Linked DNA regions of Homo sapiens: all the other regions are linked to region 1. The links are contacts of gene promoters, found by promoter capture Hi-C in blood cells and fetal thymus (Javierre and others, 2016). All regions are on one chromosome and are shown on one strand. The core of a region is centred on a gene start or on the middle of the fragment in contact, and the rest is flanking DNA. Distances in the headings are between cores, read along the strand shown.

Region 1 (4,338 bases), core at 1,354-3,853:
GCCTCTCGCTGACCAGGGTGCTTCCACAGCTCCCTTCTGCCATCTATGCCCAACAAAAAGTTAAAGAGAAGAGCGTGAGAGGGCAAGGGATGCATGCTTTTGAAAGCCAAAGGGACTCAGCTGAAACTAGCAACCCTCGTCAGAGGCGGATCGGGGTGTGTGTGTGTGTGTGTGTGTGTGTGTGTGTGTGTGTGTGTCTGTGCGCGCGCGCGTCCTTTTTCTCCCCCTGAGGACAGAATCCTGTCTCCACTCTCAGTTCAGCTCAGGTCTTTCCCTGTCCCAGTGTTCTTGATTCTGAATAGGTCCTCTGATGCACCGCCATGCATAAAATGGATGATTTGCAAGCTTCTTTGCCTCACGTAATTCCGTGGGTAATTTGATATCCAGATTCTGCACGAGCCAAAGACTCATTTATTTATAGAAAGTGATTGACCTCCAGCGACCAAAGGAGTGGGTACTGCTTGCTGGGGGCTGCAGACAGGTGAGGCTTCACCCTCGGCGCCTGGGCTCTGGCCTTGGTGCTGAATCCGGAACCCGCTGAGGAACCACCACCTCGGCGGCCCCCAGGCAACTTTCGGGAGGTTTCAGGGGCACCCGGCCAGCTCTGGGCGCCCTCTCGAGCGTCGCCGTCAGGGAGTTGGGCACAACCGATGCCCTGGGACCCGCCACAGGGCACGCGGCTGGCGTATTCCTTTGCCTGGAGCCGGGAAAGTTTTGTCCAATTTTTTTCCCCTATAACTGGAGCTGCGGTCTCCCCTCCCACCTGGGTCGCCATGGAGACTCGAGCTCTTTTTCTTTCTCCAGGCAAAATGGGCGAAGCTCAGTTAGCTCAGCCCTGACTGTAGCAAGCCCTTTTTTCTCCCTAAGCAGTTCCTGGGCATCACCCTTTTCCGTTTCTTTTTTTCAGCAAAAGAAAGGCAGGCAGGGAACAGGGCTAGCAGGATGTGGCATTGCTCCCTGTACCGTAGGGCTCCCCGGGACCGACAGACTTTGGATAACAGCAGTTGGGAAACACTCTAAACATATAATACATCTCCAACTCCCAAACACTGGAGTTGTGGGGTTTTTTTTTTTTTCTCTTCCTTTTTTTGGGGGTTGGAGGCGGAATTCTTTGGAAAATTCTGGTATTTTGTTTCTCCACTAACCTCACCCTCTGTGGCTGTTTCTATTAAGATATATTTTCCCCCTGACAATCTCTCCATATTGCACCTAGTACAACAGATGTACCTGTGGATCCACTGGGCTTTTATTGGGTTTTGGGAATACTGATGTTATTTCACTTAAAAACTAATCCAAGCTTAATGTTTTGATGAAAATGAAAATATATCCACAGGGAAGCAAATATCCACAGCCACCCAGTCCTCTAAATGCCACACACATCTCATTTTATCTAAAGTGTTTTTTCTTCCCTTCCAATTACAAAATAATTCAGTTTACTCCTAGGAAGATCTTCCTATTCACTGTTTTTAGTCATGCTAGCACATCTTCGGTTTTAAGGATAGAGAACAGTTAGGAGTTACAGTATTCTGTTTCCCATTCTCCGCATGTTTCTCCCCAACCCTCACTTTTCCTCCCTTTCGTGTTGTCTCCTCTCCTCTCCATGCAAAGCAGAACAAGAAGACTGCCTTCCACAAAGACAATAGGCTTTTCCCAACTGTAAATGACTACATCACAAGCCGCACCTGTCAGTTAATCAGTGCATTTAAGTCTTTGCCAGCGGATGTTGAAATGATGTCTGCAATAACTGACTGGGTTTCTGCGAGCCCAGGGATGCAGACCCCTCCTTCCCCCGCCCCCCGTGCGAGTTTCAGTCGCTAATGAAAACCGTATGAAACAGATTCCCCTTCTGTTATGTAACCGGCTTCTCCCTCGCCTTTCGGCTGACTTGGGCACAATGTTTCTCATGAGAGTGGAGATGCCTGCGGCGACGGCGGAGCTGGGGAAGGGGACGCGGGGACCCGAGAGCACGGAACGCCTCGCCCAGGTGGACGCCAGCTCCTCGCCTGCGAGCAGCTCAGCGCACCGCTTACCTGGCTGCGGACGGGGTGGCTTCACTCAATCATGATCTCCTCTCTTGAAACGGAGCAAGACTGAACAATTCACTACACGACGGATGGCGAGGGAAGGAAATGCAAAAAAGAAAAGGAAAAGAAAAAAACTGGAATCAGATGGTCAAATTTCACATCAGCACCGAGAGGCTGTTAGGAGACTCCATTCTGCTCGCGGCTGCTCCGGCTCCAGGTCCGGCTTCCCGGCGTCCGCGGGTCTCCACCCCTCCGCCCGCCCAGCCTCTCCAGCCAGGTGCGGCCGTCTCCGGACTGGCTCCCTCTGGCCGAGCGCGGAGAGCAGGGCTGGGCGCTGGGGCCAAGGGAGGGGCGGAGGGGCGCGCGTTTGGGCAGGGACGGGGGAGGGAGACTGGGTGGAATGAAGTGGGGAAAGATAAGAGTGGCAGAAGAAAAAAAAAATCCCCGGTTAGGAGAAAAGTGGTGGACCACGCAGAGAGACGTCATGAAATCCGCAGATTCAATGAATGCTACTCAATTCCAGCCGACTGGCTGAGCCCCGCTGGCAGCGCACGAAGCGACGCGGCTCCGAGATAAAAGCGAGTGCAGCGCCGCGTGCTGGGGAAAAAGCCGCACAGCGCCGGCGCGGTCCGGGAGGAAGGGGCGGGGGCGAGCAGGACAGAGCCACAGACCCAGAGACGCCCACCCCGCCGCCCATGCCAGCTAGCGTGTCAGCGCGTCGAGGACCGGGCTTGGTGGGGGCGGGCTGGGCACAAACCAACGTGCATCCCCCGCCACTGGAAACGTGGGTGCTCCATGCTGGGGGAATCTTTTGGGTTTCGGTCCCCGACCCCCCAGTCCCAACCTTTCTCCCAGTGCCACTAAGTAAGTTATTCCCGGAGAAACGCCTGGAAAGCAGGAAAGAGCCGAAGCTCGGGGAGCAGTTTTGTCTGCTGGTTGTAGGGGTTCGGCTTTTAGGGTTTTGTGAGATAAGGAAAAAGAGGCTCTGGGCACTGCCTCCCACCGGGCTGAAATCCGTGAGAGGCAGCCCCGGCGCGGGAGCCGGAGCCTGCACCGCCCAGAGGGGGCGCAGCGAGCGGCCGGGACGGAGGGGAGGGGCCCTATCCCTGAGCTTTGCTTGCACCTGGTGGCGCCCCAGCCTGCTGCCCCATTCAGTCCCTTCTGTCCTGTCCACTGCAACTGGGACCTGGTCCCGGCTGCTGCATCATCACCCCATCCTTATATGATGTCTCTGGGGTCACTGGAGACAAAGAATGGCCTTTTCCAAGAATGACCCAGGCTGCCTTCAAAGTTGAATTTGTCAGGATAAGCCCCTTAGACAAAGGTCTACTCCACTCTTTGAATCTAACTTGCTTTGTGCTGTTATTCCAGGGGCCCCTCATAGTGCTCCCCTCTTGCACCCCCTCTTTTTCTTATGGTCATCAAAAACAATGGTTCTACATTTCCAAAGTCTTCCCATAAATTGCTTCTACCTATGAACAGAACTCTCTTTTATGCTGTCTTTTTCCTAGGGATGAATGGATTGACAAATTGTAAGAGTAGCGAATACCATTGGCTAGTAATTTTATAATGGCCCTTTCAATAACTGGCTATTCTTGTGCTGCTTTATGAAGTGGCTTTCCTTCCACAAGGCACAGAATCTCTACCTCAAAGAAGGTGACCTTATTTTAGAGAGAAGGCTTACGGAAACCTCTTATTTCCAAGATTATTTTATTCTACATACATACATTTTAATTACCTAGCAATTCAGGTCCCCTCAAGAATGCTGTCTGCCCTCTAAAAATGACTGTAATATGGAGAGGTGTTTGTGTCAATTTGCATCCAAAGTCATGTAAAAGTCAACCGTACACACGGCCTGTGAGCTTGTATTTGCTGTTGATTTTCCCTAAGAGGTTGTAATCTGACTTGCTATTACTTCTGAGTCATATATCCCATATACAGAAGATATGAGTATGTGTAATATCTGTAGTATGTGTAATACGTGCTCCACAATGCCTGCTGGATCTAGTGATAGTGTTACAAATAAACAAAGAACAACTGAACCAAATAATCCCTGAGAGACCAGGAATACAAATGCAAGATGCAGGATTTCGGTGGACACAGCCTTAGAACATTAAAAGAACAACCCATGTTGACTATAGTTGTGTAAAGGGCATTCTGTTTAATCTGTGAAGCTGCTATGGGTATGCCTGCTAATTTTGATGATATATACTTTTACCAGTAGAATGATTTCACAAAGTATCTTTCTTACAAGATATTAGACTAAATAAGAAAGTCAAGAGTTGGAAGTAACCTATTTGTCTCCTTCAAATAC
Region 2 (4,338 bases), core at 485-2,984, 240 kb before region 1:
TATGAGGTAGAGTTTCAACTAATTCTTTTGCATGTATATATCTAGTTGTCCCAGCACCATTTGTTGAAAAGAGGATTCTTTCCCATTAAATGATCTTAGTGTCCTCATGAAAGTCAATTATTCTAAGGTGTGCAGGTTTATTTCTGGACTCTAAATTCTATTCCACTGGTTTAGATGTCCATCCTTATGCCTTATATTCAGTCACTGCTTTAATTACTATAGTTTTATAGTAAGTTTTGAAATGAGGAAGTGTGAATCTTCTAATTTTGTTCTTTTTCAGCATTGTTTTGGCCATTTGGGGACCCTTGCATTTCCATATGAACTTGAGGATTGGGCTTTTTAGTTCTGCAAAATGGCCATTGGAATTTTGGCAGGGATAACATTAAATCTGCAGATCACTTTGGGTAGTACTGCCATCTTAATAATATTAAGCCTGGGCTGAGTGCAGTGGCTCACACCTGTAATCTCAGCACTTTGGGAGGCTGAGGTGTGCAGATAACTTGAGCTCAGGAGTTTGAAACCAGCCGGGGCAACGTGGTGAAACCATGTCTCTCCTAAAAATACAAAAGTTAGCTGGGCATGGTGGTGCATGCTTGTAGTCCCAGCTACTTGGAGGGCTGAGGTGGGAGAATTACTTGAGCCTGGGAGGCAGAGGCTGCAGTCACCCAAGATCGTGCCACTGCACTCCAGCCTGGGTGACAGAATAAGACCCTGTCTCAAAAAGACAAAACAAAACAAAGCAAAAATAATATTAAGCCCTCCAACCTATAAGCACAGGATGTTATTCCATTTATTTAGATATTCTTTCATTTCTTTCAGCAGGACCTTATGATTTTCAGTATATGAGTTTTCACTTCCTTGGTTTGAACTTAGGTATTTTATTTCATTTTTTGGATGCTATTGTCAATGGGCCTGTTTTCTTAATTTCCTTTTTGAATTGTCCATTGCTAGTGTATTGTGATATTGTGAAATATATATTTGGCCTTTATCCCATTTCCTGATACATAGCTCCTAAAACCACTAGAATCTCTGGAGTGTTAAGAATGTCTTTTGTTTGCTACTGAGATGACTGGCAGCTGCAGACCTCTAGATAGCTTCCGGGTGGGGGCTGGCCACCTGAAAGACCATGGCATGATTAGAAGGTTGAGACTTTCGGTCCCACCCCCAACCTCCAGGGAAGGGAAGGGGGTTGAAGGTTCAGTTGATCACCAATGGCCAATGATATCATTACTCATGCCTACATAATGAAGCTTCCATAGAAAAGCAAAAGGACTGAGTTCTGGGGGCTTCTGGAAAGCTGAACACATGGATGTTCCTGGAAGGGGTTAACCCAGGGAGGGCGTGCCCCTCTTCTTGCCTCTTCTCCCACACTTTGCCCTGTACCCTTCTTCCTTCTGGCTGCTCATCTGTACCCTTAATTATATCCTTTATAATAAATGGGTAGGTGTAAGTAGAGTGGTTCCCTGAGTTCTGTGAACTGCTTTCGCAAATTAATTGAATCCCAGGATGGGGTTGCGGGAACTCCCAATTTACAGCCAGTTGGTCAGAAGCACAGGCCACAACCTGTGCTTGCGACTGGCATCTGCCGGGGTGGGGCAGGCTTGTGGGGCTGAGCCCTCACCCTGTGGGATCTGACACTGCCTGCAGGTAGACAGTGTCAGAGCTGAACTGAATTAGGGAACACACAGGGGTGTCCACTGGAGAATGACCTGCAGCACTGGTTGTTGTTGGAGAAACCCCAACAGCCCTCTGGAGTCATGGAAGTGTTATCTGTTGTAAGAGTATAGTACGAGATGCGGAGTTTGTTTCTTCCTAGGTCCTTATGTATAGAAATTCAACATTTTTTTTTGTGTTGATCTTGTACTCTACAACTTTTCTGAATTTGTTTATTGGCTCTCGTAGTATTTTTGTGGATTCTTTGGGGTTTTCTCTGTATAAGATCATGTTATCTTTGAATAGAACTAGTTTTACTTCTTTCCAATTGGAATACTTTCTGTTTCTTTTTTTTACTTAATTGCTCTGGAGGGAATTGTGTCTTGACCCATTCTCTACCTGTAGTCTAGGAGGGATTGACCCCATCTCTTAAGGGTGATCCCTGCTTGGCTTAAGCAAGTCCATAGAGCTCATCTGCTTGTCCCCAGTGATTGGGTCGGAAATGGCATATGACCTCCTTAAGGACAATGAGATGCAAAGAAATATAGCTTTAGCTTCTAGGAAGGAAGCTTCTCTTTTCTGTGGAAGCTTCTGGAAGAGATCCTGACTCTTCTGCTTGTGAGAAGTTGGGGCCTGAAATGTGGTGGACACTTCTGCTACCATGAAAGAAGTAGTCTAAGGATGACGGTGATGCAGAAGGAAGGGAAAGCAGGAGACCTGGAGAAAAGGAGCTGGGTCTGGGGGTCATCTCAGCGCCTAGGAACCGGCAGCATCGGAAGTCCTCTCCCCCTGGGTTTTTGGTTGTATGAGCTAAGACATCCTCAATTTTTTTTTCTTTTTTCATAAGTCAGTTTGGGTTCTCTGACATCTCTTTTTACTTGAAAATGTTAAAGTTCAAGATACATGGTATATCCTTAGCTTAGTATAAACTTATCAGCTATGGTTGTTTCACTTGGACTTTTTACCTAATCAAAAAGGAAATAAAGATGTAATACACATGTAAGGAGATGGTAGGTTTTTCTCTCTTTCTCTTTTTCTCCCTTCCCCTTCCCTTCCCTTCCTTTCTCTTTCTTTCTTCTCTCTCTCTCTGTTTTCTTGAGATAGGATCTGGCTATGTGGCTAAGGTGGGAGTGCAGTGGTACCATCACAGCTTACTGCAGCCTCGAACTCCTGGGCTAAAGTGGTCCTCCTGTCTCAGCCTCCCAAGTAGCTGGGACTACAGGTGCATGCTGCTGTGCCCTGTTAATTATTTTATTTTTTGTAGAGACAGAGTCTTGCTACATTGTCCAGGCCAGATTTTTCTTTTAAGTGTGGTAAATGCTATAAAAGTCTCCTTTTTACATTATTCTCAAAACGTTTTTAATGAGCAATAATATTCATTATTGAATGCAAAATGAGAGAGAGAAAACAAAGGAGGAGAAGAAGAATTGAGAGGAGACGGGGACAGGTAAGACAGCATGAGGGAAAGAGGAGTGGTGGAAATGGAGCAGAGGCTGGAGGAAGAGGGTTGGGACCTGAACCATCTCTAGGGCTATGGCCGATAGGCCCAGGGGCAGCCTGCTGGAGCTAGGGAAGTGGGTGGTTGTCCATCAGCTTTCCTGGGTGGTCCCATTACTGGGAGGCTTCCATCTCCAGCTGGACTGTCCTGCAGCTTCCTTTGGCTGGGCTGCCCCTGTCCCCTCCCCCTCTTCCAGTCCTGTTTCTTTCCAGGAGCCGGCTCCTTGGAGCTCATCCATCCTCCTTCCTGGGGCTCCAGGCTTCCTTTTCTCAGGGATAGGATTTGTCTCTCAGCTTCAGAAATGAGGGTGCATCTCAGAGCAGCACTTTTCCTGGCCCAGTGGCTGGGCTCACTTGTGTCTGTGTTGTGTCCAACTCACTCATCACACACCTGTTGTGGATAGGACACAACACAGGGACACAGGGATGAGACAGAAATGAGGACACAGGCACTGACATGCATAACCAGCAGACAGATGGGTATGTTTAATTTTAGAGGTGTGTTCAGAGTTAGAGGGGGACAGGGAAGGGAGGGATTCTCTAGGCAGGACTGAAGCAGGGAAGTCTTTACAAAAGATGTGCTGGGCTTTGAAGGATGAGTAGGAGTTGATCAGGCAAACCAGTGGAGGAAAGAAGGGGAAGGGGCTCTCATTGGGGCTCATCCTGGCTGCACATCGGAGACACCTGGAGGAGCCTTGGGAGAGAAGATGGCCAAAGAGCAGGGAGAGCTGATGCTGTTCCCTCAGGGTTTACCTGTTTGCTTCCATGCTGTGACTTTGAGCCCTGTGATTTCCCTTAGTGATGACAGCATATCCCAACCATGTGAAGTCTAACTGCCCTCTAGCCAGTGTAAACAGGCTATTCTGGAGTGTGGGGCCAGGGGAGAACCTTCAGATCCCTGAAATATGCCCCAGATATGGTTTGCGGAACTCAACGGCATCTTTTTCACCTTCAACCCAACCTGTCCCCAATGTCAGCTCTCAGCTGAGTTACTGCAGCAAACCTTTCCCCAGTTACTGGCTGCTATCTGCACATTGTGTGACCAACTAATCTCTGTTTGCCTGGGACTTACCCACATTTAGCATTGAATGTCCCACATCCCGGAAATCCCTCAGTCCCAAGCAAATGAGGACAGTTGGTCATCTACAGCTCACACGCCAACCACAGCCATCCTTTCAAAATGCATGT
Region 3 (4,338 bases), core at 649-3,148, 220 kb before region 1:
ATTGTTTGATTGACATATGATATAATTATTTCAAAATATCTATATATTTGATAAATTACCAGTGACTATGCTTCTTCATGTCATCATTATGAACTACTCAATGTTCAAAGGTTTATCATTTTCCATGTAATTATTTTTACATTCAAGGCTTTCTACTCTATAGCATGAACCTGACAATAACGATTCCTCCTTGAATCTGTATTGAAGTTTATAAAGCTTCAAGGACTTGTCAATGATACATAAAAAGTTAATTAAAATCATTCAAGGACTGCCTACCATAAGACTTGCAATAAACTGTCTGTTTGCATTGAAATGATGGGGTGCTCTGTGGGGTAGATTTTCACCTCCAGCCAATGTCTACTGTGGAGCTGCATGCTTGCATTTGTAATGGGCATTGCTGGGATAAAAGGTCTCAGCTGTGACAGTCTTAGGAAACCTCAGGATTTTTCAATTTTCCAAAGGCCTAAGAGTATTTTCTTGAAATTTCGGCATGGTGCCACAGCTACCAACCATGACACCTGGCTCAGTGAATATCTATGGCCACAGCCAGGGCACAAATGTGAATTTTAAAAATTCCACAAAGCCCCTCCTTTTCCAAACAGAAATTGGACATAAATATTCGTACATCAAAGTAACATATTAATGGGTGATACTTCAGGTTACTTCTTTTTTCTTTTCTTTTTTTTTTTTTTTTGAGATAGAGTCTTGCTCTGTTGCCCAGGCTGGAGTGCAGTGGCGTGATCTTGGCTCACTGCAACCTCTGCTTCCTACCGGGATCAAGCAATTCTCTTCCTCAGTCTCCTGAGTAGCTGGGATTGCAGGCATCTGCCACCATACCCGGCTAAGTTTGGTATTTTTAGAAGAGACCAAGGTTTCACCATCTTGGCCAGGCTGGTCTTGAACTCCCAACCTCGTGATCCACCTGCCTCAGCCTCCTAAAGTGCTGGGATTACAGGCATGAGCCACCGTACCTGGCCCAGGTTACTTTTTCAATTCCAAGCTAAGCAAGCTTAGGTCACACCTTTGAGGAATAAGGACAGAGACAGATAATTGAATTGTGTGGGGCTGAGAGTGCAGGGTTTCCAACCCCTGAAGCCACTGCAAGGGCAGATGGCCAGGTATGGCTAGGACAACAATTTCCTGGCACCCCTAGGCTCAGGTGTAGGGGGGCCTCTGTCAGGACCTCTAAGGATTCCCACAGGGTCTTCATTTACTAGACTGGAAGTGAGAGACATCTCCCTCCCCTCCCTTATTGGGGGCTGTGATGCTCCCAAATCTTAACTTTCTGATGATTTATCTTCAATGAGGGTGAAGTGCTGGGCATTTTGACACCCTCCCAGCCTGCTTGGCACAGCCTGCTCAGAGCTCTGGCAGCTCTTGTTGGAAGGTGGGAACTATTGACACCTATTGAATGGGAGCATCAGCTGAGACCGACTTCTAAGGAGTTCCTCTGAGGTGTCCCGTATCTTCCTGATTCACAGTTTGGCTTCTGGCTAGAATGGTTTCCAGGAACATCTTCAGCCACTGCTCAGTGATTACGGTCTCTGTTCTAGCTTTGCTCAGTTTTTGGCAAATCCAAAATCTGATTTTGGATATGACAGTGGGATATAGTGAGACATGGTTGGAGGCCACTCGGCAGGGGTGGAATCTGTGTGAGTAACCGCGCACCTGTGCTCACAGGAAAGCACAGCCGTTAGAACTCCTTAGACCCTGCAGGCAGGCCCCGCTAAGTTAAATAGTGACAGGGACATGAACATATTCATTCAATGTGCTTTTGCTATGATCCACCACTCTGGATCAAACATATTTTTTGAGACGTTTTGCTGTATAATTAAAAAAAAGGTTTCTCTAACCTCAGCTGATGGCCCATTTATTTCAAGCAGTTTGGGATGTCGTGGCATTCCAGCACTTAGTCATTTGGGGTTTGAGGCAGTGGAATTTGATATGTGTGTCCATTTCCATGGATTGCATTAGGACAAATACTTAATGCATGCGGGGCTTAAAACCTAGATGACAGGTTGATGGGCGCAACAAACCACCATGGCACATGTATACCTATGTAACAAAGCTGCATGTTCTGCACAAGTATCCCAGAACTTAAAGTAAAAACAAAAACCAAAAAATCCCAAAAAACAAAAAACGTAGAGTGGCAGACAAATTCCCATTTAATATTTGTGTTTCAACTGCCTCTCCCTTTACCCTTGAGAAAAAAAGGCAATGCATTTTTTTTTTCCTTCAGAATAATTTCCAAGGAGCAGCATTAGGGGTGTGAATGGTACTTAAAGTGTGTGGATTTAAAGTAGACAGAAGAATCAATATATTCTCCTCAGCAGTGCCAGTCCCAGCTCCCACACTGATCTGCTGTAAGGATGTTGCCTCTATCCCAAGCCCCATTTTAGTGCAACAATTTGGAAACTGACGGGAATGTGGGGGGCCAATAGGAACCGTGTCTTGATTAGACATGTGCTGGCCTGAGAGACAACATTCTCTTCTGCCAGGATGTTGGGGCCCAATGGTTGGGGCCTTCCTGCTCTCTGAAATAGAGTTTAGGTTCTGGCTTTGGAGTGAATCAGGAAAATGGCAGAACCCTTCAAATTCACTTTCAAAGAGACATAGAATATTGACAATGTGACATTCTCTAACAAACAAAATGTTTCCATTGATAACCACAAATTACTCAGCGATCTGCCAAGGAACCATTGATTTAGCCCAAATTTCTAAGGCCACTCCCCTCACCTAAATGGTTATTTCATTAAACTTAGAGCGAAAGGGTAGCATTAGATATGCTAAGCTTTACTCTTAACATAGATACCAAGAAGGGACAGTTTTTGACGCAAATCTTTATTTGGGTTGACAAGAGCCACAAAGAAACTCATTCTGTAAGTGAGCTTCTACAAAGTGTCACTAGTGACTGCCGCACCCTGTGTATGTTCCATCATGTTTTCAAGCTTTTATTAAAAATGGTTAATGGGTAGAGGGAAACATCCCTCTATTTTGACAGCAGGAAATTAAAAACATGAATCCAACTTGGAAATCCATCAGATGACCTGTTTAAATGTCTTAATTTTTCGAGATAGATGGTACCAAGTGCTATGTTTTCTTGCCACTTGAAGGTAGAACTGATGTTTTAGGCAACATCCAAGCAATGTCTCGTTCAATGCCCACATAAGCAAGACTGTAAGTTCTGCCATCTCTTGATTCACATCACCATTTGGAGGATGGGAGTCTTAAATTTCTCTGTCACAAGGAGGGGCCCAGGGATTGGCTGAGTTGCAGAATGAAGGAGTATGCAGGAATGAACCACGGCGGATGAGTCCATAAGACAGAATCCTGGAGGAGAACCAGGAAATCAAACCCTCAAGGTGGGCTGTGTGGATCTGGGACAAGCCGGGAGAGAAGCAGGGGCCACCGTACGCCCCTTGGGCCTCTCTAGCAGGCAGGTGCTCGCCCCTGAGAACCTAGATCCTCTCAGACGAGAGTGGGCAGGAAGAGAGGTGGGAGGGGTGGGGGGATACAACATAGTGAAAATTTAAAAAATTGATACGTGATTTTGGGATAAAAGCAGAAACACTATTGGATGAGCTAGAACAGAGCTCCCCAGGCCCACAGACAAATGGTCTAATAGATTAAATGGTAACACTTTGATAATCATTATAAAGAAGTTTTTCATAGAACTGTTACCTTTTGGTAGTCTGGCTTCCTCATGCCCTCCCTCCAGCGGTACCCACTTTCTTCCCTCAACCTGAACTCATTCCTGCAGAAATACTTTTCACGCTTTTCATTTCTTCCATGTGCCCACTATCTTCATTCAATTATTTACCATTTTTTTTTTAAAAAAAACAAACATTGGAACAAATATAATAAAACTTCTTTACATTGATTATCTAAACATTGACATTTAATCCCCTAGCCTTTTTGTCTAACAGTTTTGTGTTGTGCCAGCCACCGGGCAAATGGTGCCTTCCTGCCAGAGGGGCGTGGGAAGTAAGAAAGTGCTGAGAAGGTTCTGGAGGGAGAAAGGCCCCTCCTGGGACAGAGGTGGTGTTCCCCACACTGCAGCCTCAGATACCTGTGGGCCCTGAGTTTTCCTGAAGGCACTTTCTGCTGCTGTGGAGGTGACGATTGGACCCATGGATGGCCGGCTGTGTGTTTATCTTAGTGCTTCTCACCAGGACAGCCTCCCATCACCTTCACTCAGACCCTTGACCTCCTCCACCTTGATGGTTCTTTTAGCGAGGACAAGCTCACACGTTCAAATAGAGAAGGGGCATGGCCAGCTTTGGAGAAAGAGTACTGTTAGCATTTTTGGTATCTTTCAATACTGCCTGACTGTGGAAT
Region 4 (4,338 bases), core at 993-3,492, 210 kb after region 1:
CCCAGAAGGAACCAACCCTGCAAATGCTTTCATATAGAAGGCCTCTCCAGAACTGTGAAGGACTTTCTCCTGTTTCAAGCCACCCAGTTAGTGGTGATTTGTTAAGGCAGCCCTAGGAAACTGGTACACCCAGTCAGTGCAATAACTTTCAAATAGTTCTGCTTGCCTCCAACACTCACACTCCATGTGTTCCCATCCTTGATTACTGTGGCATTCTGCACATGGCACTCAAAGCTGGGTCAATGTGAGCCAAGAGAACTCAGGAAAGGAGAGACATAAGAGAGAAGAAGACCCTGGAGAGAGAGGTTTTGAGACTGGAAAGTAATCATATAAGCCATTGGATACTTGCAGAAATCTTGGGGTGGTCGCTGAACTTCCCCCAGAGCATGGGATGGGGGAATTCAAAGGACAGAGAGGCTTCTGTTGCCTTCTGCATGATGTATAAGAAATCTCATTGAATCCTCTCTGCCACTGCATGGGCTGGAACTACTACCTGCACATACAGTTAGGAAGCTGAGGCTCTGTGGGGTTATCTCTTGCTTAAGAATGACCGACTGGACTGACAAAGTTCAGCCATAGAATTAGAGCCCAAGATATCCTGCTCTATAATGAGTATTCTTCCTTACCACCCTTATATCTCTAAATCAACAAACTGGGTTATTTGTTTCTCTTGGCCCTGACTTGCTATTTACCTATCTGGATTTCCTTCTCTTTCCCTCTGCACCTGGTCAAAAGCTGCTCATCCTTCAAAGTCCAGTTTAAATTTAATTGTCTCTATATAAATGTTCCTGAGCACCTTAGCCTGAAGAGACATGAATCAGTCCCACTGAACAAGACTAACTGACATGCATATAATTTAATTTGCACAATTGAACACCTGCTGTGTTGTTTCTTCAATTATGGGCTTGGTCTCTTTGCATCTTTTGTTCTGAGTTATTTTTTTCACACTGTTGTAAGCTCCTTGGGCAGAGTCCATAATTTATACATCTTTGTATACCTAGTGGGTCTCAGAACAGTTCCTTGCACACACAAAAAATGAGGCAAAATGAAGTCAGATGTCTTGGTTCTCAATACAGTCATCTGTTCTGGAGTTGTTAAGTGTAGGATATCGAATGCTTTTCTTAAACTTCCTGGTCTCTGTCTCCTCTTCTTTGACAGTAGGGGTTTGAACCAGCGAATGTCAGTTTCCTTCAGCTCTGTTGGACTGGGGCACTGCTCCTTTAGCTTAGGGACACATGCCGGGAAGAGGGAATGTGGGACTCCTCTGGCCCAATTTCCAGGCACCTGGGGCCCCAGCAAGCTTACCTTGTCAGATTCATCAGATGGTTGGACTGTAGGCATGACCTTGGTGTTCCTTGCAGGAAACAAAGGCCAGGTGTGATGCTGGCAGTGTGTCTGTGTGTCTCAGGAGTCTCTCTGATGTTCCGTCTGAACTACATGTCGGGAGATGCCAGATCTCAATCCGACAGATCAAGCCACATGTGCCCAGAAAGGCTTTTGGCGACATCACATTCACTTAGGAGCTGTGGTCCATAGGGGGCTGGGGTATGATATTCTGAATGGTGACGGAAATAAGTGTTCTTATTCTTGTTTACAGTGCCTTTTTGGGAAAATGGGTGAAATAAGGTTCTGTGTGAGTGTGCATGTGCGTGTGTGTGTGTTGAAGTAGGGCTGGAATGGAAACATGGGGGGAAGGATATTTGAAGCTCTGTAGTACCGTTCCTTATTGAAGTAACACCCCTCGCCTAAGTATAAACTTGTGGATGGCTTCCCCAGTGCAAGTTTATAAGTTTGTAAACCCCAGGCTCTGCAGATTAGATGTATGGGCAACTGAATTTTTTTACACAAGCAGAGAAATTTTAAGAAATTTAAAGCATAATCATGTACACCCAAATGCTGGTGGTTTGTGCTGGCTTAAGAAGCAAGAATATTCCTTTGGTTGGTGTAGCATTTCTCTTTACTGAACAGCATTAAAATAGCAACAACCGACTATACACTTCAGAGAGAACCATCTAGACATGGAGAGAAAAGAATCAATCTTGTTTGTAGGTAGCAATGTCTGGTAGTATCCATAAAATATAACAGCCAAGGAAATTTCAAGGGAGTGGAGCAATGGAGATTTTGTGCTTAAAGAGGGATCAATTAATTGGCAATCATGTACAACTCTAGGTATAATTATATAGAAAACAGGCAACATGAGATCATTTATTTATTTTTATGAGGGAATAATTTTATTTTATGCTCATTTTACTGAGGCTAATTTCTTCTTATTCTAAGAAGTAAATGTGAACATGCCTATTGTGCATTTGCAAAGGAAATTCAAACATTGTCTTTGTTTCAGAAGCAAATGCTGTAAATGTTGCTATTTCAGAATGACTTTTATCATAGTTATAGATGTTCTCATTTATTTGCAAATACATTTAAAGTGACAAAAAAGGAATACTTGGGGATTTAAATAGCATGTTTTCAACTTTAACTGCATACTGTATTTAGAATTTAAAGGGGATCTCTGATCTTTGTTTTCTCATACGTTCCACTTGAGGCCACATTATTCTAGGGCAGTGGTCCTAATCCACAGATTTTAGTCTCTTTTCCCCACCCCTCCAGGGCACATCTGGCAGTGTCTGGGGGCATTTTGATTATCACAATAGGGAGGGTCCCCTAGTACAGGATTCTAGTAGGTAAAGGCCAGAGCTGCTGCTAGACAGCCTAAAACACACAGGACGGTTCCCATCTACAAAGAATAATCCAGTCCAAAATGTCAGGAGTACTGAAATGGAGAAACCCTGCTCAAAAAAAAAAAAAGAAAGAAATTTTATTTCCTTCTTACAATAATCCATAGTTAATCTCTGAGCCCCATTTTGTCCACAACAGCATGGTGTCGTGACCTAAAGGTATATCTCAAAAGAATCTCTCATTCTTATCAGTGCAGAATAGAGAAATTGTGTGCAGCCTACGTGTGATTTGTCACTTTAGTACTCTGTGGTAGGTTATTTGACATTTCATGCTTCATAGTCTGAAATGCCCTCTCTTAGTATACCCATCTGACATTTTCGAGAGACTAATGTTTGCCTAAGAATGCTTAAACGATGGCCAGATTTTACTCTGAGTGATACTACCCCCTGGAAGTGGGGGGAAAAAAAGAAGGAGGGAAAAAAGTTAAGTTTTCATTCTAAACATCTTCAAAGCTTGATTGGCTTTAATAAGGTATCATTAATTAATTCAACAGCTAAGAAGGGACTGCAAGTGTTAAAAATCACGGCTGTCAAATGTTATGGCATCTGGGAGCCCTAGTGGTTGGTTACTTAACATGATATTTTAGGACAATTCTACTCTGCTTAAGCATAATAAACCGGAAAGACATGAACAAATGTCCCAACTGCTTCCCTTTCTACTCCCACCCCCTGCTCTGGAAAGAAGCCCTAACACCTCTAATACCACACCACTCTAAAATAAACCCAAATGTTGCACTTATTTTACTGCTATGCATTGAGCATTATTATTTGGAGATGCTCTATGCTGCTTCATTAAAGATCTTTCATATGGGGTGGGGAAACTGAGCCACAGGGGATGATTAAAAGAAGGAAGAAGTCAGATGACTTCGGATTCTGTTGGCTCCTGACTAGAGAACACCTTAGGAAAAGCAATCCTTCATCTGCAGCACACAGAAGAAACCACATTCCGAACTTCTCGGTGATGAGCCCCGTTTCCTAACAGTGTGAGGTTAATGAACCTCCTTATTTTTGGCAGGGTGAGGAAGTGGCAAGCAGAAAAACCTATCAAAGGGAGCCCAGTTCCAAGGCTTTAATTGCTTAGGTGACTATTAAGAAAAGAGCCCCCTTCTTTCACAGCAGAAGGATACAGTTCTCTGTTCCCAAATCTGGCAGCTATTCCTCAATTATAGAAAGAAGAAGGAAATTAAAATGTGATGGATTAAATAAGAGGGTGAACCGGTACTTATTTCCTAACTAGAAATTACCATTTTTGTGCTTTTAAATTGATAATTATCAGCACCATACTTTATTCACTTTTGTCATAAGGTCCTTCCTTTTAATTAAAATTGAGATGCTTCACATTTCTTGCGTTCCCTTAAGAAAATCTTTCAAGTGTTTAAGTCCCTGATATTGGAAAGCTTTAATTACAGCATAGAAAAAGAAGAGTGGAAAGAGCTGGGGCGGGGGGATGTGTCCCTTCATTTCCCGTGAACATGATCACACTGGGAACTCAGGGAGGTCCAGTGCATTTGTCAACTTGCCAAACATTATGTTCATTAAAGGCCAGAAAGTATCCCTGGGGGGTGGATACACTTGAGCTCATTTCCAATCATTTTACCTGCTC
Region 5 (4,338 bases), core at 1,372-3,871, 180 kb before region 1:
AACAAAGATGCCCAGATGAGGGGAGAAAGAGGGTGGAAACCTAGTCAATGCTTCCCCTGCCAAGACACATGCCCGTTCATAGGGCTGAGTCCACCCAGAGGAAAGGGCACCTGTGGTAATTTGCACAAAGGCACTGTATGGGCTAGCAGCAGTCCTGCAACCTCAGATGTCATTTACTTCATCCTCCTTTTTTTTAGATGAACACATGAAGAAAGTGAGGCCCAGGGAAGCCAACAGATTTGCCAGGAGGCAGAGCTGGAGTGAGCTCCCAGACCTTGGGATCCTAGGCTGTCCGTTCCTCCTTCTGTGTTTCCCTGAAGCAGTGGCTGCTTCAGGCTATTGTCTTGCCCAGGGACTGTGGAGTTGGTGGTTTCCTTCTGAGAGCAAGAAGAAATCTATTGCTCCTGATTCTTCCAGTGTGGAGCTTGGAGACAGCCAGTCCTGGGGAATCCCAGCTCTGCTGCCCACCAGCCAAGGGACCCGCAGCCTTAAGTCTTCATATGCAAAATAGGGTGAAATGTCCACCTTGCTGGGTTGCTGGGAGAATGAAATGACATAATGAACTTTGGGAGCCTGGTGACAAGGTGCTTGGCTATAGTGCCTGGTGGGCCTGGGTTGGAATCCAGTTCTCCCAACTCCAATCTGCAAGTATTTGTTCAGGCCACTTCTGCCTCAGAGTCTGTTTCCTCAACTGCATAATGAAAATAATAAGACCTACCTTGAAGAGTTACTGTGAGAAAGAAAAAAATCCTGCAAGGATGGCACCTGGTCCACAGCAGCCATTGAACAAATGACAGCAATTATGATAGTGTCTGGGTCGAAGAAGGTACACAATTTGTAACTACAATAATCACTATTTTTATAAGCTCAACATTGTCCTGGAAACTGTGGGAAATCCAGAAATAATCTAAGAAACAGATGGGCAGACCCATCTGGAAGCTAAGAGCCTGCTTGGTAACACAAAACCTGCATAGTGCCCCATATCAATGTGCAGTTGCATTCTACACTGTGGACAAGAGGCCAAGAATGTTCTAGTGCATCAGAGACAGAGGCCAACGGTGGCTGGACTAATTGGCAAAGGCATCACAAAGGAGGTGGGAAATTATTGTGGCTCTGATGTGTGAAAGGGAAAAAGCCAACCCTTACTGAATATCTATTATGTGCCAAGTACTGGGCAGGGCACAACAGCCCACAGGGGGAGTATTGACCCGTCTTACAGATGAGGCAGTGGAGGTGCATAAGGTTCAGTCACTTGCTGAAGCTTACATGTCTAATATTCGGTGGGGATAGGAGATTGAACCCTCCATCAAGTTGGTCCCATTCTGAAGCTTGTCTTCTTTCCTTTCTGCCATTGCAGATAGATGAGAGAAGTGTGTGTGTGTGTGTGTGTGTGTGTGTTTGTGTGCCTGCATGTGTGTACAAGGTGAGAAAAAGTGGCAACAAGAAGAATCTTGCCTCACTCCTGTGTTAATAGAGTAAATTACCCCAGTGGAGCAGAAGAAGTGGAAATAATGGAGTGAAAGATTTAAGGGGCTTGTGTTTGGGATATGGGTCAACACTAGAGAGAGGATGCTGGGGATGGAGGAGAAGGGATAAGGCTAATAGAGAAAAAAAGACTTTCTAAGATTTGATGGCAGATTAAGATCTGGTAAGTGGGAAGATCCTGGTGTCTTACAAAATCATAAGTTGGGAAGGGGAACTCGCAGCTAGGGAATAGGATGAACATTTATTGAACACCTACTATGTGCCGGCATTGAGCTTTGTAGCTTCACATCTGTTTTCAGCTTTATTCCCTCCCCTTAATAAATCTGTGTGGTAGGCAGCATCATTGATCTGAGAGAGGCTGGCTACCTTGCCCAAGGTTACACAGCTGCAATTGGGTTTGGTCTTGGGTGATTGCTCTAAGTCTAGGGTACTTTTTATTAACCAAACAGCACAGAAGCATGAAACACCCAAGGGTGCTGAGCAGACAGATGGGCTGTCTCAGAGGATGAGAGTATAGAGCAACAATCAAGAATCGAGACCACCAGATACTTCAGGAAGCATCCACAGATAGTGCTCAGGAGGAGCAGAGGGTGCAGGCAGTGAGAAGGCGGAGGAGTTAGTGGAAATGAGGGGGCTCTGCTGATAAGAAGAGTCCAGGATGAGGAGGCCAAGGTGGTGCATTCAGCAAGGGAGAGGCCCTTCCTAGCAAGGAAGGAAACTCCCAGAGACTCTGAATAGGGTGGTCAGGATGGAAGTTCGACTGCAGGGACAGAGGGTGATGATGGCTGAAGCTGCAAGACACACTCATCTTAGATGAGGAAGGGAGATGGCAGCGTGGCTGGGGAAAACAAGCATGACACCTAGTTTTCCAAACGAGGGAGGGGAAGCAACCAGTAGAAATGAAGCAGTGGGACATTCTAGAGGGAAAGCAAGAACAAGATCTCCCAGGGATTGGGAAGAAACAGAATGAAGGTCAAAGCGTTGCCCTCAGAGAGAAGATGGGCCCCTCCCTGTCTGAGAGACACAATGCCAGGCACAGCAGGGTGTGTGGGGCTGGCCAGACTGGTCACCCCTGCTCAGAATGTGACAGTTGTTCCAGTCTTTCCAATGGATTGTGGTCACCTATCCTGGAGTGTCCATAAATTAGATCAGACTTTTCAGTCTTGAAGAGGGGCAGAGAGAAGCGAGAAAGTGATTGCTTGGTTTTCCCACTCCAGTTAAGACACAAGTCGCCCTCTCTTAGATTCCAGAATTGTGGAAAGCCAAATCTTCTAAAAAGGTCTGGTGAGCTTTAGAGTGAGGAACGGGGAAGCTATTTCGGAAGAACTAGTCTCTGCATGACTGATGGGCAGGACGTTTCCTCGTCAATTTTCTGGGGCAAGACCGATTTGGATTTGCTTTGATTCCACCACGTCATGGGTTCTCACGACAGAGGAAAGAATAGTCAATCCAAACCCTCACATTAGCCGGAGTTCCAATTTTAGACAGATGTTCCAACCCACTTCCCACAAACCCGCTTCTCTTAAGAATTCTAGCAAGTGGAAAATTGAATTTCATTTTCTCTGCTGTCCCTCTCCTGGGGATGACAGAAACTGGGTTTTGAAGGAGAAAAAAGGGTCCCAGGTAATTCACCCAGAGCAGTGACCACATAGTTGAGGGTTAAGAACAAACTGATCCCCACAACTCAACACCTGTTGGGTAGCTCCACCTGGTACCAGCAAGAAAAGGGGGGGCTGGCAAGCAAGCATTCAAGGGTATTTTCCCTGCTCTAACAAGGTATGTTTAATTCTACAAGAAAACTGTTATTTCTCTGCATCATTTTCCCTCTTGACTTCACCTTTAATGCACACTCTATAGACGTCCTGTTGTTTAACTTTGTGCTTGCAGTTAAGTGTTAGCATTTTGAACAAATTAATGCTGACTTCCTCTTTTCCTATAAAGGCTGCACCCTCTGGATGTATTTCAGTGATTATACTAATTCCTGCATCAATAAAATAGAATTACTTTTACTTAAACGTGGCTTAAATTCCTGGCGATACTTGAGTGGAATGCAAAAGGCCTATGTTTTGCACTTCATTGCATCTGTGTTGTTCTGGAGAAATCTGCCGTTGGTATTTCGGGGGTCTTTTGAAGAGGAGTCTGCTCTCTGTAATCATTGCCATGTTTTATTTGAGCTCTCGGAGATGGGCATTTCCTTTGCCTGGGTTTTGTGGAGGAGACATGCACTAACTAGATTTGGGGTTTCAAAGACTCAGGTCCTCAGATAATCACTTGGTACCTGTTCTTTGGCCAGTGGCCAAACATCTCCGCATCTCAGCATCTTTCTTCTAGGGACTGTTGGTCAACAGCTTATGCTACCAACTTCTACCCTGAAAAATATTCACTTTTTTAGGGTTTTTTAGGATAAAATAAGAAATTTCTTTTAAAAGAAAGCTTGATGTGTCTTTGAATGGTCTGATGCATTGAATAAATTGCATGTCCTTTTTCTAGAAAGCAAATGAAATAATTTTAGTTAAAAGGTTTCATAAGGCAGGTTTCGGTTGATGGGAGCGCAATGTCTCCCTGTATGGTCACATACACGACTGTGTTTTGTGAGTGTTGCATTTCCCCAGGTTTCAGAGAAGAAAATGATTCTTTTCCTCCATGGGTCAGACATGTAGGTGTAGTTCTTCTCTCAGCCTCTGCCTTCATTTCTCAGACAACTTGGTTTCCTGTGAACCAGGCACATGCATGTTCTTCAAAATGGCCCTGGATTGAAGCAGGCCACCAGTTTCCATTTAGCCTTAGCTGAATGAGAAGATGTTCAGTCCTGCCAGCTTCATTATCAGCAGGTCTCTTGCATTTTAAGTGTTT
Region 6 (4,338 bases), core at 708-3,207, 170 kb after region 1:
CTTCCTTTTCTTTCCTTTTTTTTCTTTTTCTTTTCCTTGAGATAGAGTCTCACTCTGTCACCCAGGCTGGAGTGCAATGGTATGATCTTGGCTCACTACAATCTCTACCTCCTGGGTTCAAGCAATTCTCCTACCTTAGTCTCCTGAGTAGCTGGGATTACAGGCACCCACCACCATGCCCAGCTAATTTTTGTACTTTTAGTAGACACGGGGTTTCACCATGTTGGCCAGTCCGGTCTTGAACTCCTGACCTTAAGTGGTCTGCCTGCCTCAGCCTCCCAAAGTGCTGGGATTACAGGCATGAGCCACTGTGCCTGGCCATTATTTTTTCTTTTATAAATTGTGCTTTGGTATTATATTTAAATACTTTTTGTCTAACCAAAGGTCATTACAATTTGCTTCCATGTTCTCTTCTATAAGTTTTATAGTTCTACAATTTAAATAAGTCTATTATCAACTTTGAGTTACTTTTTTTGTATAAAATATGAAGCATAGTTTAATATTCTTTTTAAAAATATAAATGAAATATTCACATGAATATGAAATTTTTTCATAATTCCAGCACCATTTGTTGAAAATACTATTCTCTCTACATTGAATTAATTTTGTACCTTTGTCCAAAATTAATTGGCTATTCTTACGTGGATCTATTTCTGGGTTCTCATTTCTGTTTCATTGATATGTATGTCTGGCCTTTTAAAAATATTATATTATCTTAATTATTGTAGAGTCATCATAAGTCTTGAAATTTGGTGCTATGAGTCTTCCAACATTTTTCTTCTTTTTCAAAATTGTTTTGGTTATTCTAGATACTGTGCTTTTCCATATATATTTAGAATGAGTTTTTCAGTAGCTACCAAAAAAGCTTTCTTGGATTTTGATTGGGATTGCATTGAACCTATAGATCAAATTAAGGAGAACTGACATCTTAACAATATTAAGTATTCTAATTTTGACCATGGCATATCTTTCCATTTAGTTAGATCTTGTTTGATTTATCAGAATTTTTATAGTTGTCAGCATGCAGATTCTACACACTAAACAAAAAAAAAGATTTATACCTAAGTATTTCACTTTAGGAGCCACTGTAAATTTATTTTAAAAAAATTGGTTTCCAGTGGTTCGTTTCTAGTGTATATAAATTAATATTTGTATGTTGACCTTGTGTCCTGTGACTTGGATCAACTTGCTTACCAAATCTAGAAGCTTTCTTTTATTCCCTAGTTTCTTTTTTAGATTTTTGTATGTAGAGAATAATATCTGTAGAGAATAATATCTATAACTAGAGACAGTTTTATTTCTTCTTTTCTAGTCTGTATGCTTTTTTTTTTTTTTCTGCCATATTGCACAGACTAGGAACCCAGAACAATGCTGGATACCAGGAGTGAGAGAACCTCCTTGACTTGTTGAAGATCTTAGGGGAAAAGATGGAAAGTCTTTCACTAATAGGTATAATTATAATTAATTATTTCAATATCCTTTATTGGTTAAAGGCAGGTTCCTAGGTGATCACAAGTTTTTTTTTTCACGAATAGATCTTGACTTTTGTCAAATGCTTTTTCTGTTATCTATTGAATATATACATTTTTTTTTCCTTTTTAGTCTGTTAATATGTTAATTACACTGGCTGCTTTTTGAATGTTAAATCAGTCTGGTAGTTTTTGGAATAAACTCCACTTGGACATGATGTATTATATTTTTAATATATCGTTTGCTGAAAAAAAATATTGGTAGAATGCATTTATTGTTGGCAGTAAAGACCTCCATGTTCTTTAAAAGCCAAAGACCAGGGCCAGAGTACTGCTGGAAGCTAATCTCCTCCCTGGGAGCCACACAGATAAGGTTAACTGGAAGCAAAGGGCTCTGGAAGAGAGGAAGCCAGGGTGCCGCTGCTGCGCCCCGTTCCTGCCTGGCTTGGACGTATCTGGAACTGACCTCATTCTTTCACTATGGTGGACAGAATTCTAAAGCTGTCTTTCTAAGATGTCGTCCCCTGGTTATATAATCAAGCGCTAATCCAGGTAATGCTGTGAAGGGACTTTGCAACCCAAATTAAGGAGGCTAATCACCTGACCTGAAAATATGGCAATTATCTTGGGTTACTGAGTAGGTCCAATGTAATCACATTAGCTCTTAAAAGCAGAAGAGGAAGCCAGAGAGATGCAGCAGAAGGGCTGGTGGGACTGGAAACATGAGAACTTTGTCTGCCATTGCTAGTTTTGAAGATGAAGATGGAGGAAGGGACCACCGAGGAATGTGGGTGGGCTTTAGAAGCCGAGAACGATGCCCGCAAGGAAGCAAGCAAGGGAATGCACCCGGAACGACTTTGGAAGCAGATTTATTCCCCAAACCTCCAGGAAGGAACACAGCCCCACTAATACCTTGATTTTGGCCTATGAGACCCAGAGCAGAGAACAAGCTGAACCCCACTATGTGTGGACTTCTAACCTACAAAACTGTGAGATAATAGATAGACACTGTTTTAAGATGCTAAATTTGTGGCAATTTGTTAAGGCAGCAATAAAAAACGAATGCTTTGGCTTAGCAAACATATACGGAAGACCTTCTATGTGTCAGGGACTGCCAGGTGCTGAAGATAAGGAGACTGGGAAGAAAAACGACCTCTTTATCTAAGGGGCGCACCAACCAGAGGGAGACTATAACACCAAACAAAACATGGAGGTATTCCGTATATGTGCCGTAAAAGCAAAGCTTATCTTGGTTGCAAAGAATAAAAAGCAATTCTGGCTAACTTTAAATAACAAAAGAAAAAAAAAGAGAGACTATGTGCTTTTAATTTTGAGAGCAAAGATACTGGAAGATTCTAGTTTGAATCTTCTAGTTTGAAGGAAACTTCAAACATGTCAGATTTGGGGAAAGGACGACCAGTACATTCCCAGGAACCTTAGTCATAGAAGTTTGTAGACTTTCTGCTGGTTCTTTAACTCTGAACCCACAGTTCTTGGCCTTAATTTATCCTTTCCAAATTTAAAATTATAAGAGGGAAAAAGACAAGGCTTAGATTGGTCCTCTTCAAGGACGGCATCAATCTATTCATGAAGGATCCAACCCTCCCCAGCCCAAACACCTCCCATTAGGCCCCACCTTAAAGACTAGTAATCAAATTTCGACATGAGGTTTAGAGGGGATAAATATCCAAACTATAGCAAGGGTAACCTGTTTTACTTAGAGTCCATTAAAAAAACATCTTCACAGCAACATGCAGCCTGGTGTTTGATCAAATTTCTGGGTAATGTGGACTAGGCAAGTTGACCCATAAAATTGAACATCACATCTTGTGGTACACATAACCCATGGGGTCTAGCTCTATGGGTCAGAGCCTCATCCCCAGAAAGAAGCCTCTTTATGGGCCTTAAAGTTAGTCAAACAGGTGCTCCCAAGACTGTCCAGTTGTCAGCCACACTTCAATTACCCCTACAATGAGGATGGTAATACTCATAGGATTTTTTTTGTGTAGCTTGGAAAAAGATTATGAGGATAAAATGATTTTGTTAACTGTTAAGTGATGTGCGTATGTGAAGTTGGCATTATGTATTTTAAATTAAGATTCAAGGAAAGTTGGCAAACTTTGAAATCTAGAATTTGTACTTGCTACTAAAAACGAGTAATTTTTAAGTGAGACGTCAGGAAACCCCAAAGCCTTTTCGTGATTCCAAATGCTGTCAGAAACTCCTCAAAGCAAAACTCCACCATCTGCACTTTAAATTGAAAAGTGTGGCGAGTCCTCAGGGATCTAGAACTAGAAATACCATTTGACCCAGCCATCCCATTACTGGGTATATACCCAAAGGACTATAAATCATGCTGCTATAAAGACACATGCACACATATGTTTATTGCGGCACTATTCACAATAGCAAAGACTTGGAACCAACCCAAATGTCCAACAATGATAGACTGGATTAAGAAAATGTGGCACATATACCCCATGGAATACTATGCAGCCATAAAAAATGATGAGTTCATGTCCTTTGTAGTGACATGGATGAAATTGGAAATCATCCTTCTCAGTAAACTATCGCAAGAACAAAAAACCAAACACCACATATTCTCACTCATAGGTGGGAATTGAACAATGAGAACACATGGACACAGGAAGGGGAACATCACACTCTGGGGGCTGTTGTGGGGTCAGGGGAGAGGGGAGGGATAGCATTAGGAGATACACCAAATGTTAAATGATGAGTTAATGGGTGCAGCACACCAGCATGGCACATGTATACATATGTAACTAACCTGCACATTGTGCACATGTACCCTAAAACTTAAAGCATAATAAAATAAAATAAAATAAAAAGTCATGAAGATATTAAAAAT
Region 7 (4,338 bases), core at 792-3,291, 140 kb before region 1:
CTCAGTCAGTTCTTACCATGTAAAAGATCCTCAAAGGAAGGATCTCTTCCCCAACCCGTTGCTACTTTGCTTTCTGAAAGTCAGTGTTTCCATAACCTGACTTTTGAGTCTCCTCTGTTTCTAAGATTGTAAAACTAGCTCTCCAAACATAACCACCTCTTAATAGACAACTGTAGCTTCCTAGAGAACATGGAAAGACAAGATATCACAGTTCTGGAGGCGTTTCTCTTATACTTTTTTTTGTATTTTTCCAATTTTATAGAATGAACTTGTATTATTTTTTGCAATGGAAGATAACTTACATATTTCAGCAGCAGCAGGACTGCCTCTGTTCATGAGTTCTTACTTTTGAATTGACATCAGATAATTCTGTACTTGGGAAACTACTCTGGATGTGGCATCCATCTCAGTCTTGGGTGGGACTTTCAGGTCCCTGGACTCTGGCCCCTTCCCACTACATTGTGTGTATCCGTGTGCTGTGTGCGTGTGTGTGTGTGTGTGTGTGTGTGTTTTAACACTCATCTTCTGTTTGAATCAAGACAACATGTTCCCATCTCCTGTACCCTCCCTCCCCAGCATGTGTACCCCCCACTTATTCTTGGAGCACCCCCTCCTTCCTTCTGCCTCTGTAAACCTGACCCATTTGTCAAGCTCATGAGCACCTGGGGCCATCCACACGCAGCCCTTTTTTTCTCTGAATTGTTACTGCCCTTATGATCTGCCATAATCACATGCTCGGAATGCACGTGAACGGGCATTTGTACAGCTCTTTGCAGTTTTCAGACCAAGTGCACATCTATTGCTTCATCTCAGGGCCATGCAAGAGCTGGATGAGATCCTGTCATTATTTAAAATTTAGATATTTTATTCATCATAAAAATTTTGCATTTGGGTTAACTTTTAAAACCATTGCATTAAAATAGTACTTGTCTTGATCCCTGAGTTGTGGTGGCCTTGTAAATTTTGCAGGCCAGTCCCAACCCTGCTTCATTTAATCCTTGTAACTAGAAGAGTCCTGTGAGGTGTGCACAGGACCTCCTGTGGTATTACTGGCCCATTTCACAAATAATGAAACTCATCTCTCCCACTGGATTCCAAGCTTTGTGAGGGCAGCTCTGTAGTTCATACTCTTCTAACCTTCCCAGGTCAACATGGTGCTACCTGTTGGTTCATTTATTTCAAGGTATAGCAATGAGATGGGGAGAGGTGTGTTAATCAGCCCTTGGGGGGACCATGAACTTGTCAAAAGTCCAATTATTACCCCTAACCTGTCTGATTGCATCCATCCATAGACCCCATTGCACTTCTAGGAAGCAAATTTTCTCTGCTTTAGAAATTTAGTGCTCATTTGGTGAGAGAGTTACAGAGGCTGTCAGATAGGGAGTATGACTGAAGAAAAGCCACTTGGGGAACCTGAGGGAGTTCAAAAATTGGCTGGTCCCAGGAGCCTCTGTTTGAAGCAGGAATGAGTTCCTTGAGACGAGGCTAATGTCTCTCTAAAAGCACATGTGCTAGTGATTCTGAGATGACTGTAACCTTGAAGGTTTGCTTGTATGCTCGTGTGGCACTGAGATGAACTTTTTGGAGTCACAAGTGAGGTTGTATGTACTGAAAATCTTCTACCCTTGAAATAAGAATGCAACAGTGTATGTCTCTGGATGTGATTCCATTTAACTGAGTGTAATTTAGGTGGACAGGATTAATATCTTAAACCAAGATGTGGAGACTTTCTGTATCATCTCATTGCACAGAAGTGGGTGGGGTGGTGAGGCAGTAGGTGGTGTCCTTGACTGCCAACTTTTCCTTTGTTGGTCTGAGGTCATTCTGCCTATTTGAGGTTGGGAGAGAAAGCGTGGATAAGAATTATTACCTTGAAAATATAAGATAAGGAAATAATGTGAATATTATTCAGCAATAAAAAGACATAGTTTTTAAGCCACAGAAAGACCTGGAGGAGGCTTAAATGCACATTGCTAAGTGAAAGAAGCTAGCCAGTCTGGAAAAGCTACATACTGTGTGATTCCAACTATATGACATTCTGCAAAAGGCAAAACTATGGAGGTAGTAAAAAGATCAGCGGTTGCAAGAGGTCTAGGGAGATAGAGGAAGTGATGAACAGGTGGAACCCAGAGGAATTTTAGGGCAGTGAAACCCTTTTGTATGATAATGTAATGGTGGCTACTTAAACATCATGTAGTTGTCCAAACCCACAAAATGTACAACATAGAGTGAACCCTAATGTAAACTGTGGACTCTAGCTGATAATAATATATCAATACTGGTTCATCAGTATTGTTACAATCATATCAAATGTTCCACACGAATGCAAGATGTTAGTAATGGGAGACTGTGTGTGTGTATGTGGTGGGGGTGGGGGAGTGCAGGTAATAGGGGAATGCTCTGTACTTTCTACTCAATGTTTCCATAAACCTAAAACTCTTCTTAAAAATAAAGTTTAGCATGAAATACTAGGTTTTATTTAATTGTACATTTTAAAATAACTAAAAGACTACATAATTGGATAGTTTGTAACACAAAGGATAAATGCTTGAGGGGATGGATACCCTATTTTGCATGATGCGATTATTATGCATTGCATGCCTGTATCAAAACATCTCATGTACCCTATACATATATATAGCTACTGTATACCCACAAACATTAAAAATTAAAATAAAAATATAAAGTTTATTAATTAGATAGAAAGGCAGAATGAGAGAAAAGGAGAAAGAGAAAGAAATAACAAACATGGCCTATTTGCCTCATGTTCCAACAAAGGGTCTTGGCTCCAAATATCACGTTAGGGGAATGGAAAAGACAAGTTGGGACTGGCTGAGGCCTGGCTCCTTCCTATGTCGAGTCTATTGCACAGCACACGCCGGCTGCTTCCATCAGTCAGGCTAGAACAGCAGAATTCCCATCTCCACACCACCACCCATCCGGCATCAGTCAAAAGGAGCTTTCGATAATGTGAGTCATGACGGAAGCTTCTTGACATGGTGAATGTTCCCCAAGGGATGTCAAGTGTGATCCTTCTCCTTTGCAGAGCATATGAGCTGCCTCGATTGTGTGACAAATATTTTCGTGTGCCAGCATAATCCGAACTTTGGCAGAGGCTGGGGTAAGGGCGCAGTGACAGAGAAGTGTTCTCAGAGCCTGGCAGTGTTAGATTTAGAAAGAAGGGATGCATTTTGCATTCTTGACACAGGAATCCTAGGAAGTGACTCTTCTTGTCTTAGAAACAGGATTTATCACTAATGACAAAGAGATAACTCATACTTCAGAGAGGCTTGCAGCATACAAGGCACTAATGATGACAACAATTATGAAAATTATGATGATGAGGAACATGATGATAGCAACATGCCTCTAAAGTATACCATGAGGCAGGCGCTGGTCTAGGCACTTTATAAACATAAATGTATTTAATCATTATAATGGAGGTAGTGTCTATCATTATCCCATTCTACAGATGAGAAAACCGATACTAGAAAGAGTAAGTAACTTGGATAAGATTGCATAGTATTTTAGGTCAAGATTCTGTGGCCTTTCCCTCAACTATGTAACCTCTGATCATTCCCTGGTCATAGCTAACAGTTCAAAGCCCGGTATTGTCACAGCCCCAGAGGCAGAGAACAAATAGCTATCACCTGGAAATACCTACCTACCTACCTACATATAGGTAGGTAGGGTGAATAATGTCCTCCCAAAGACGTCCACATCCCAATCCTCAGAGCCTGTGAACATGTTACTTTACATGGCAAAAGGGACGTTGCAGATGTGATTCTGTCAATAACCTTGAGAAGGGGAGATTATCCGGGATTACCCAAGTGGGCCCAGTGTAATCACAAAGCTCCTTACAAGAGCATGGCAGGAGAGTTAGTGTCAGAGAGAGACGGATGGGGTGGGAAAAGAGAGTGAGAGAGAGAGAGAGAACAGAGACAGAAGTCAGAGTGATGGGGCCATGAGCCAAGGAGTGCAAGTAGCCTCTAGAAGCTGGAAAAGGCAAGGGAAAGGGTCCTCCCTGAGAAACCCCAGAAGGAATGCTGGCCCTACTGACACCTTCATCTTAGGACTTCTGACCTCCAGAACTGGCAGAAGCAAAATTTTTGTTGCTTTAATCCACAGAATGCATGGCAGTTTGTTATAGCATCAGCAGGAAACTAATGTACACACATAATATATAAACACATAACACACCCCCCTCCCTGTAAATGCTTACCACCTGCAAACCTTTACATATACTTAGTGCCCACTTGCTCCCTTAGGGCCACGCTTGCTGACTGCAACCTCTTGGTCCTTTGTCCTTTCTCCTGGGGCTGGTTCCCCCGTGTGGCT

Evidence for each region. Contacts are between HindIII fragments. The CHiCAGO score rates a contact against its expected background, and 5 or more counts as called.
Region 2: a contact is called between a fragment that was not itself captured here and the fragment with the promoter of KCNJ6 in region 1, in 1 of 17 cell types (M1 macrophages). The highest score is 5.0, in M1 macrophages.
Region 3: a fragment that was not itself captured here is called in contact with the fragment with the promoter of KCNJ6 in region 1 in 1 of 17 cell types (endothelial precursors); the score reaches 7.9 in endothelial precursors.
Region 4: a contact is called between a fragment that was not itself captured here and the fragment with the promoter of KCNJ6 in region 1, in 1 of 17 cell types (endothelial precursors). The highest score is 6.9, in endothelial precursors.
Region 5: a contact is called between a fragment that was not itself captured here and the fragment with the promoter of KCNJ6 in region 1, in 4 of 17 cell types (M1 macrophages, M0 macrophages, M2 macrophages and 1 more). The highest score is 7.7, in M1 macrophages.
Region 6: a contact is called between a fragment that was not itself captured here and the fragment with the promoter of KCNJ6 in region 1, in 1 of 17 cell types (endothelial precursors). The highest score is 5.0, in endothelial precursors.
Region 7: a fragment that was not itself captured here is called in contact with the fragment with the promoter of KCNJ6 in region 1 in 1 of 17 cell types (neutrophils); the score reaches 5.2 in neutrophils.

The regions. Positions count from the first base shown.
Region 1 is chr21:37,913,854-37,918,191 of GRCh38, forward strand. It overlaps KCNJ6 (potassium inwardly rectifying channel subfamily J member 6), which reads right to left and starts at 2,604. Exons shown (of 4, transcript NM_002240.5): 1 at 2,031-2,604. The HindIII fragment of the contact is 6,207 bases long and covers 1,296-4,338 here.
Region 2 is chr21:37,670,047-37,674,384 of GRCh38, forward strand. The region is part of intron 3 of KCNJ6 (potassium inwardly rectifying channel subfamily J member 6); the gene reads right to left. The region is part of intron 1 of KCNJ6-AS1 (KCNJ6 antisense RNA 1); the gene reads left to right. Among named protein-coding and RNA genes, the nearest start is that of KCNJ6-AS1, 150 kb to the left of the region's middle. The HindIII fragment of the contact is 972 bases long and covers 1,249-2,220 here.
Region 3 is chr21:37,690,104-37,694,441 of GRCh38, forward strand. The region is part of intron 3 of KCNJ6 (potassium inwardly rectifying channel subfamily J member 6); the gene reads right to left. The region is part of intron 1 of KCNJ6-AS1 (KCNJ6 antisense RNA 1); the gene reads left to right. Among named protein-coding and RNA genes, the nearest start is that of KCNJ6-AS1, 170 kb to the left of the region's middle. The HindIII fragment of the contact is 1,782 bases long and covers 1,008-2,789 here.
Region 4 is chr21:38,129,184-38,133,521 of GRCh38, forward strand. All of the region lies in intron 2 of DSCR8 (Down syndrome critical region 8), which reads left to right. Among named protein-coding and RNA genes, the nearest start is that of DSCR8, 9.9 kb to the left of the region's middle. The HindIII fragment of the contact is 1,888 bases long and covers 1,299-3,186 here.
Region 5 is chr21:37,729,731-37,734,068 of GRCh38, forward strand. All of the region lies in intron 2 of KCNJ6 (potassium inwardly rectifying channel subfamily J member 6), which reads right to left. It overlaps KCNJ6-AS1 (KCNJ6 antisense RNA 1), which reads left to right. Exons shown (of 8, transcript NR_183540.1): 7 at 198-1,094. Among named protein-coding and RNA genes, the nearest start is that of KCNJ6, 180 kb to the right of the region's middle. The HindIII fragment of the contact is 2,590 bases long and covers 1,327-3,916 here.
Region 6 is chr21:38,087,263-38,091,600 of GRCh38, forward strand. All of the region lies in intron 2 of DSCR4 (Down syndrome critical region 4), which reads right to left. Among named protein-coding and RNA genes, the nearest start is that of DSCR4, 32 kb to the right of the region's middle. The HindIII fragment of the contact is 1,506 bases long and covers 1,205-2,710 here.
Region 7 is chr21:37,778,213-37,782,550 of GRCh38, forward strand. All of the region lies in intron 2 of KCNJ6 (potassium inwardly rectifying channel subfamily J member 6), which reads right to left. Among named protein-coding and RNA genes, the nearest start is that of KCNJ6, 140 kb to the right of the region's middle. The HindIII fragment of the contact is 1,888 bases long and covers 1,098-2,985 here.